Regions from separate parts of the Homo sapiens genome. Here regions 1 and 2 are each linked to region 3. The links are contacts of gene promoters, found by promoter capture Hi-C in human tissues and cell types (Jung and others, 2019). All regions are on one chromosome and are shown on one strand. Each heading gives the region's core, a stretch centred on a gene start or on the middle of the fragment in contact. The rest is flanking DNA. Distances are from core to core; before and after follow the strand shown.

Region 1 (2,700 bases), core at 102-2,601, 1.5 Mb after region 3:
CAGAGAAGGCTCAGACATGCTTGGATCAACCCCAGGAGGCCCTGGCTCCCTTACAGCTTCACCCCACACTGTCAGCTAAAAACAAAACCAGCACGTTTTATAAGGAATCAAAAATCAACTGTCTCCTAGGAAAATTGTGCCACCTGAAGTAAAGACCTGTAAATCAAAAATAAAATTCAAAGGCCCCCTGAACCATGGGGATGGACTCCCTCCTTGGCCAGGGCACTCTAAAATTTCCCCTGAAAGACTGGTTCAGGCCATGACGGGAAGTGGCGGTCCGTCTGACATGCCTTATCGTAGCCTGTAACATTAACATCAACACAGACCTTAAGTCTGATACGAAGCATTTACAGTCTGTTCTCTCTCAAGCCTGCTGCCTGGAGGCCTCATCCGCATGATACAACCTAGGTCCCCACAGCCCCGTATCGTAACCCAGACATCCCTTTCTATCGATAATAACTTAACCAATTAGAAAAAAATTTAAATTTACCTATAACCTGGAAGTCCCCCTTTGGGCTGTCCCACCTTTCTAGACGGAACCAATGTACATCTTAAATATTGATCACTGTCTTACGTCTCCCTAAAAGTATGAAACCAAGCTGTTCCCGACCCCTTTGGGCACGTGTTCTCCTGGTCTCCTGAGGCTGTGTCACGGGCCATGGTCACTCAGGATAAATCTCTTTAAATGTTTTAGTTTGACTCTTTTCGTGGACACACCTCTCTGATTTAAACTGGAGTCTGGAAGATTCCCGCAGTCCCCCGACGCAGCTGAAGCCACAGGGGCGCAGACTCCACACACCCGCGGGCCGTTCCCCTGCGGACACCACACCAGCATTTGAGCGCCATTTCCATTCCCGGGGTCTCCCAGTCACCGCTCAAGCCTGAATGGAGCGCAGGCCGCCCCGGGTGGCAACACCTCCACCCTCAGGTCCACACTGGCGACCCTTCCTACTGCCAGCGCTCTCAGGCTTCCTGGACCGGTGTTCCTGGACCTGGGGAGGAGAACACCAGCACGCGCGGGGCGCCGGGATTTGCATGGCCCGGGTGATCCCCTATGCATAGGGCCGCCCCTGTCCCAGGGAGGCTGCGACCCCGCTCGGGGCTGCAGCTGCCTCCTCGCGCTTGGCAACAGCGCGGGGCGCCCGCAGCCAATCGCGCCGCTCCCCGCGCCGCCGCTCCGCCGCGGAGGTTACTAGCGAGCGTTGACCGGTAGTAACCCCGGCGCGGGCGGTGGCGGCGGATGGGCGGGCGCTGCACACGCGCGGCAGCGCGCACCCGCCCCGCCCGCACCTGCGCGCGCGAGGGGCTCCGGCAGCGCTGTTTTCTCCCGGGCGTTGAGCTCGGGCAAGAGCGCGAACGTCACCCTGCGTCCACAGGCCTGCAGAGTCAGCACCTGCACCAGCCAGAGAAAGGACGGGCTTTTTTACTCAGTATGGAGAGCCTGCGTTAGAGCTGACACTTAGTGGGCAGAGCCCGGCCTTCCGGGAGCCTGCACATCACCACGGGCCAGGATGAATCCCGCCCTGGGAGGGAACGTCTGGGTGGAGGCCAGGTGGCCTGATAACCCCAGGGCCAGGGTGGGCAGAGGTGTCCAGTGCAGCCCCCAGCCAGGTGCGGGGAGCTCCAGACAAAGGACAGAGGCCAAAGATGCCCCCATACCTGCATCCATGAAAGAATTCCCGGAACACGTGCCCCAGGAGGAGGAGAGGCCTTTTGTAGCTCCTCATTGTCAGCAGGGTTTGGGGTTTATGTCTTGGGTAAGGAAAACTCAACCCAGCTTATTTTATTATCTGGGTCTGAGCGATTGCAAAGAGATGAGTTCTCAGTGGCGCTTATAGAGGCAGGGAGTTGGGACTCCAGGTGTTAAGTCCAGTCCTGGACCTGCCCCCTACCTGCCAGCGGTCCTGGGCAGGCCCTCGTTCCCCCTCCACCCTCCTTCCCTTCTGGAGAAGATGCCCATACTGATGTGTGTCCCATGCTGCTCCCCAAAGGCTTAATGAGGCAAAGCGCCAAATAAAGCAAACACGATTTGCTCAGTAAACACCAGTTATTTTTAATTAAAACAACAACAACAAAAAAAAACACTTCTCCCAAAACAGTGGGAGGAGAGAAATAACAACTGAGAAATCCCATAAAAACTCCTGCCAAAAGGTTCACTTTCAAGACAGGCAGTTGAGATATCAGAGAGGGGGACTTTTTTGGTTGGAAGGCACCAAGTTGCCTTATAACAGTAAAAGAAACAGAAAGAACGTGACTCAGGTTCTGCCCTTCCAGCGGGTTCCACCCTTATCAGTTTACAGACAGCAAGAACCTTCCAGCAGGGGCGCCTGCCCACTGACCTGCACCCTGCGGATGCCGCAGTGATGCCCACCTCCCAAAGCAGGACTCTGACCTCATTTCCTGCAAGGGCCATGTGCTTCTTATTTCCTCCTCTCAAGGTAGCTCTGGATTGTAATGTATTTGGTTATTGTTCTGTACTTGGCTGGGCTTTTCCCCTTGATTTGTGAGCTTATTTCAAGACCAAGATTAACTTGGTCTACGGAGTTTCAAAAAACAGAACCTGGATCCACAAATGAACATTGCTCAAATACAGATTGCAGCTCAACAGACAGAAGCATTTTCTAAGAATGAGGGTTGTGCAAACATAGCCCGGCTGCCTGGGAGGTGTCAGTTCCTGGTTGCTGGAAGTGCTCAGACAGA
Region 2 (2,700 bases), core at 95-2,594, 1.3 Mb after region 3:
AAAATAATAATCATCTGTTATCCCTAACTCCCCACTTTTCCCCATAAGAAAAGCTGTTAAATTTTGGTGTTTACAACATTTTTATCTTTGCATCTAAAAAACGACATAATTTTGGAATCTCGTGTGTTGTTGTAACTTGTGTATTTATTCAGTAAGTAATATATTTGGGCCTGATGATGGGTTATGGTTGTAACCTTTCATATTAGCATTGGGAAGAATCTCTAGGGGATGTGTGCTCTGGAAGATCAGCAGCTTATTCACCGCGTGGATTTGGCTTCTGGGATTCTCCCATCAAGACCAAATCCTATAGTTATTCAGTCACTCCTCCCCAGCTCCTGCAGCAACAACAAATAACACAGCTTTGCAGTCTGGGATGATGGCAGAGGAAATGGGAGATGTGAGGGGCCTTCGGCAGGCGGAGTGCGTCAGGTAAAGCAGATTTCCAAGCCTGCACGTGTACATGCGTGTGCGTCTGTGATTGTGTGGGTGTGTGACAGTGTAGGGGAGCCAGGAGCGAGAGGAGAGGACGGCGATCGTAGGGGACACCTGAGAGTCAGAGGCCCGAGGGGGCTGGGACTCATGTCGAGGTCGGGGAAGGATGTAAAACCCGGACGGACATCACTGTAGGCCGCACCTGCTGAGAGGCCAGAGCTGCCTCCTTGAGAGTGAAGTTGTTTACAGACAAGAGAAGAGATCTTGGCGGACACATCACAGCTAGCCGCGAATCCCGAAGGGTCAGCAGAGCCTAGAAAGGTAAGTGGGGGTGGGCAGCATCCCCGGAGGGGCCTGCGAGGCCTGGGGGCGGAAGGGAGCGGGCAGTGCCCGCACTGGGCAGGGGTGAAACCCTCTCGAGAGTTGGCCCGGACGCGTTTCCCGCGTCCTTCCTCTTGAGGGCCCAGTACCCAGGTGGCTCCTCGTTGTGGCGTCACAGAACAGCCGACAAAAGTGATGGATTTCAGGGGCCAGCGACGGCGAGGTCCAGGTCAGAGAGCCGGTGGGCAGCCAGGCACAGAACCCGCTCAGGCCCTGCCCAGTCCCCGCCCCCTCGCTTCCCGAGCAGTGATTGGCCGAAGCGGCCCCTCGTTGCTATGACGGCACCAGAGTGCTGCCACTGGCTCCACCTCGTCCCTTCCGCCCCGCCCCTCCGTATTCCCGGGCGGTGATTGGTCGAGGTGCCCTTCCCGTTGCTATGACAGTACGCAAAGGCTGCCAGTGGCTCCTCCCGCTTCGTCCGCGTCGCCTGTCCCCGCTCCCCATCTTCCGGGCTGGGAGGGAGGCGGGACCGGCCGCGTCTCCATGGCGACGCGGGACGCGGCGGTGGAGGCGGTTGCTACCCACCTGCTAGAGGCGCTGCGGCTGTGATCCAGGCTGGGGCGAGACCATGTCGGACCTGGGCTCGGAGGAGTTGGAGGAGGAGGGAGAGAATGATATTGGGGTGAGAGCTCCTGGTGAGAAAGGGCTTCCCAGGGTGCGCAGCGGCGGGGGAACCTCGAGGTTGGGTTTGGAGAGTGAGGAGGCGCAGAAACCAGAGGTCTGAGCCACAGCTCCCCAGGATCCCCGGCAGGGACGAAGGCCACGCCAGACACACCTGCGTGCGTCCTGGAAGTTGATGGTGAAAAGTGAAACGCTGTGACGTCTGGTTACCACATGCCGCCTCGTTCTTCCCCCACCCCCATCCTGCCTCCCATTAAAGGCAAAGATTTCCCAGCGGAAGGCTTTGGAAGTTTCCTCCTCCCTGTGTTAATTCCCATCGAGGCAGTTTTCTCGGATGAGCAGATCATCCCACGCTGCCATACTGCCCTTGAATAAGTCATTTCTGTAGCTGAGATTTGCTCCCCCGGCATTTAGATGCATGGAGGATAGTTGCTTCCTGGCAGCCTCCAAGAAATGCTGAGGAGGCCCTGGGCTCAGGAGAGGGTTCCTGAAGATATTACCTTATAGGCGTATCCTCACATGTGCTTTCTTCAGTCCCCATCTGAACTGACCCAGGTCTTTGGAGTTATTTCCTGAGTTAGGCAGCAGAGAGGAGAAAGAGGGCACATCCAGCCTGTGAGCTGGGTTCTGTGTGGGAATATTTCTATCACCCAGAGAGTAGTTCCTCCCTACTCCAGAGAGTGACCTCTCCATGGCTGACAGATAGGGAACCTCAGCCACTATGGTCTGCATGCACAGTACAGAGTTGAGGTACTTTCAGAATTAACTGAAAAATCTAGCGACTCTGCAGTGGTGCTGTCAGTGCCTGCCCAGACCTTTTTGCTAGCTCTGGGCACTCATCTCCCAGCTTCCGCCTGATTTGCTACTCAAGCTATCACCTCTGTGCGCTGGAACTACCTGCCCAGTATGGAGAGCCAGAAGTGCCTGAAATTCACATCCGGCCAGACAGCCAGTAGCTAGTGCAAGAAGCAGGACAAAGTCTGCAGTGCGATTGATGCCCCCAGAGTCCCTGTTGGATTAGGCCAAGTCTGGGACTTCACCTGCAAAGGCATCCTTCCTTAGCTGCCTGCCCTTTCATGTCTACTTCCCTGCCCTCTTTACTACTTTCTCCCAGGAGAGCACTTAAAAAAATCAGGCCAGGCGCGGTGGCTCACACCTGTAATCCCAGCACTTTGGGAGGCCGAGGTGGGCAGATTGCCTGAGCTCAGGAGTTTGAGACCAGCCTGGGCAACACGGTGAAACCCTGTCTCTACTAAAATACAAAAA
Region 3 (2,700 bases), core at 1-2,500:
TTCCAGCACTTTGGGAGCCCGAGGCAGGTGGATCACGAGGTCAGGAGTTCGAGACCAGCCTGGCCAATATGGTGAAACCCCGTCTCTACTAAAAACACAAAAATTAGCTGCGCATGAAGGCGCGCGCCTGTAGTCCCAGCTACTCGGGAGGCCGAGGCAGGAGAATGGTGTGAACCCCGGAGGCGGAGCTTGCAGTGAGCCGAGATTGCGCCACTGCACTCCAGCCTAGGCGACAGATCCAGACTCCGTCTCAAAAAAAAAAAAAAAAAGGCCGGGCGCAGTGGCTCACACCTGTAATCCCAGCACTTTGGGAGGCCAAGGCGGGTGGATCACAAGGTCAGGAGATCGAGACCATCCTGGCTAACACAGTGAAACCCCGTCTCTACTAAAAATACAAAAATTAGCCAGGTGTGGTGGCGGGCGCCTGTAGTCCCAGCTACTCGGGAGGCTGAGGCAGGAGAATGGCGTGAACCCGGGAGGCGGAGCCTGCAGTAAGCCGAGATCGCGCCACTGCACTCCAGCCTGGGAGACAGAGCGAGACTCCGTCTCAAAAAAAAAAAAAAAAAAAAAAAAAGAAAAGAAAAGGAAAGAAAGAAAAGAAATCCTAAAACGCAAATTCCACCAGAGAACCCTGCCTTCTTCTCATCCCTCTGATCTACCCCCTGCCCCCACCCAGCCTGGAGCGCGTGGGCGCCGTCTCCCCCTCCCTGGGCCCCTCTGTCCACCCCCTTCAGCCTTCAGTGTTCTCGGTCACAAGCGGTGATGTCCACTGCAGCCCGCACACCTGCTCCCGCGGGGCCGGGACCCCTGACCCCTGACCCCTGCAGCGCTGCGCCCCGCCCTCCCTCGTGCGCGGCCCGGACCCCGCCACCCTGCAGGATTGCGCCTACTCCGACTGCCCCTTCCCTATCGTCCCACCCTGCGCGCCCAACCCACCGGCGACACCCGGCCGCGCCCCCGCCCCGGTCCGTGTGACTCGGCGCCCGGAAAGACGATACCAGCCCCGGGAGGGGGGCGCTCCCTCCCGACACCAGCGCTGGGCGCGGAGACCCAGCCTGCGGCGAGTGGTGGCCAGGTTCCCCGCCCCGCGCCCCGCCCCGCGCCCCGCCCCGCGCGTCCCTTCTTGCGGGGCCACCGCGACCCCGCAGGGGACTCCGAAGCCAAAGTGCCTCCTCCCCGCCCCTTGGTTCCGCCCGCGCGTCACGTGACCCCAGCGCCTACTTGGGCTGAGGAGCCGCCGCGTCCCCTCGCCGAGTCCCCTCGCCAGATTCCCTCCGTCGCCGCCAAGATGATGTGCGGGGCGCCCTCCGCCACGCAGCCGGCCACCGCCGAGACCCAGCACATCGCCGACCAGGTGGGTGGGCCGCGGGGACGGGGCCGGCCCGGAGTCCTGCCTTAGCCTCAGGGCGCGGCCGCGGCTCCTGGAGCGAAAGAAGCCGCTTTGGCCCCGCTGCGCACCCCTGGGCTGGCCCGGGCTGTGGCCGTGAGAGGCCTCCCTCCGCTCGGGCGCTGCGCGCGAGTGAGCAGCGGGGGGCCGCGCCTGGGGCGCCGCTGGGGAGACATTGGGCTCCGCTGAATACAGCAAGGGCGAGTGGGAATTGATAGCCCGGAGCAGGGTGCGGTCCCTGCATGGACAGTCTCTGAGAGGAAACCCCAGGGATGAGGCGCTTCTGGTTTCAGGCAGGCAGGGTGATCGGGCGTCGCCGGCGATGGCGCAGGTGAGCAGCCGGCTCCGATCTCCACGGTGATCCGATAGCAAGCGGGTGGGAAGGGTCTGGCTAAACTGACTTAGCCAGGCTTCTTGCTAAAAGTGGATTTTACAAGGAAGTGCGCAGGTGGCCTAGGCGCTTCAGGAGCCCGACTACAGTTTGGCCAAGCAAGAATCTTTGTCAATATCCTCATCTAGTTCGGGAAAAAAATCATGAGAGAGAGTGCAAGAGGTCCCCAGTGATAAGGCACATGGGTTAAAAACTTAAGTGTATCTGCATAAAAGGTCCACAGGTTTCTTTACATGCTTCCGATTCTAGCACTGTTTCAAACTGTAAGTCTAAATAAAAAGTTAAAACACAGAAAAACAAGATAAAAACCGGGCTGGGTTGCAGATGGCAACCTTCCCTGTGTCTCGGTTTCCTCGTCTGTAAAATGGACGTCCTGTTGCTCTGCGCCTGCCAGAAGATTCTGGAGGGGCTGAAATGAGCAGGTCATCTGTGCAAGAAGCCCCCTCCGGTGGAGCACAGGCCAGGCCCGCCTCGCTGTCATGGTTGGTGACCGACGGGATGCCCCAAGCAAGAACAGGTCCAGGCGATGCTGAGGCCTGTGTTTTTTTTTTTTGTTTTTGAGACTCAGTCTCACTCTTGCCCAGGGTGGAGTGCAGTGGCACAATCTCGGCCCACTGCAACCTCCGCTTCCCAGGTTCAAGGGATTCTCCTGCCTTAGCCTCCCGAGTAGCTGGGATTGCAGGTGCTCGCCACCACGCCCAGCTAATTTTTGTATTTTTAGTAGAAACGGGGTTTTGCCATTTGGCTAGGCTGGTCTCAAACTCCTGACCTCAAGTGATCCGCCCACCTCAGCCTCCCAAAGTTCTGGGATTACATCCTTGAGCCACCGTACCCAGCTGGAACTGTTTTTTTCTACTTTATTATTAGGCTGACAGTTTAAATGTCCCTTCAGTTGTAAGAGACAATTGTGTGAAGAGCCAGT

Evidence for each region. Contacts are between HindIII fragments. The study calls those that stand out against the background at their distance.
Region 1: a fragment that was not itself captured here is called in contact with the fragment with the promoter of CSTB in region 3 in 1 of the 25 tissues and cell types used here (dorsolateral prefrontal cortex).
Region 2: a contact is called between the fragment with the promoter of RSPH1 here and the fragment with the promoter of CSTB in region 3, in 1 of the 25 tissues and cell types used here (dorsolateral prefrontal cortex).

The regions. Positions count from the first base shown.
Region 1 is chr21:42,233,406-42,236,105 of GRCh38, reverse strand. The region is part of intron 2 of ABCG1 (ATP binding cassette subfamily G member 1); the gene reads right to left. Among named protein-coding and RNA genes, the nearest start is that of ABCG1, 16 kb to the right of the region's middle. RefSeq lists silencers at 1,110-1,179, 1,190-1,389. The HindIII fragment of the contact is 6,850 bases long and covers 1-2,700 here.
Region 2 is chr21:42,494,868-42,497,567 of GRCh38, reverse strand. RSPH1 (radial spoke head component 1) reads left to right here and starts at 1,344. Exons shown (of 9, transcript NM_080860.4): 1 at 1,344-1,435. The coding sequence starts at 1,382. RSPH1-DT (RSPH1 divergent transcript) reads right to left here and starts at 1,029. Exons shown (of 3, transcript NR_135518.1): 1 at 903-1,029; 2 at 635-745; 3 at 125-335. RefSeq lists silencers at 998-1,237, 1,268-1,387. The HindIII fragment of the contact is 9,831 bases long and covers 1-2,700 here.
Region 3 is chr21:43,774,858-43,777,557 of GRCh38, reverse strand. It overlaps CSTB (cystatin B), which reads left to right and starts at 1,250. Exons shown (of 3, transcript NM_000100.4): 1 at 1,250-1,354. The coding sequence starts at 1,289. RefSeq lists a silencer at 672-1,671. The HindIII fragment of the contact is 5,981 bases long and covers 1-2,700 here.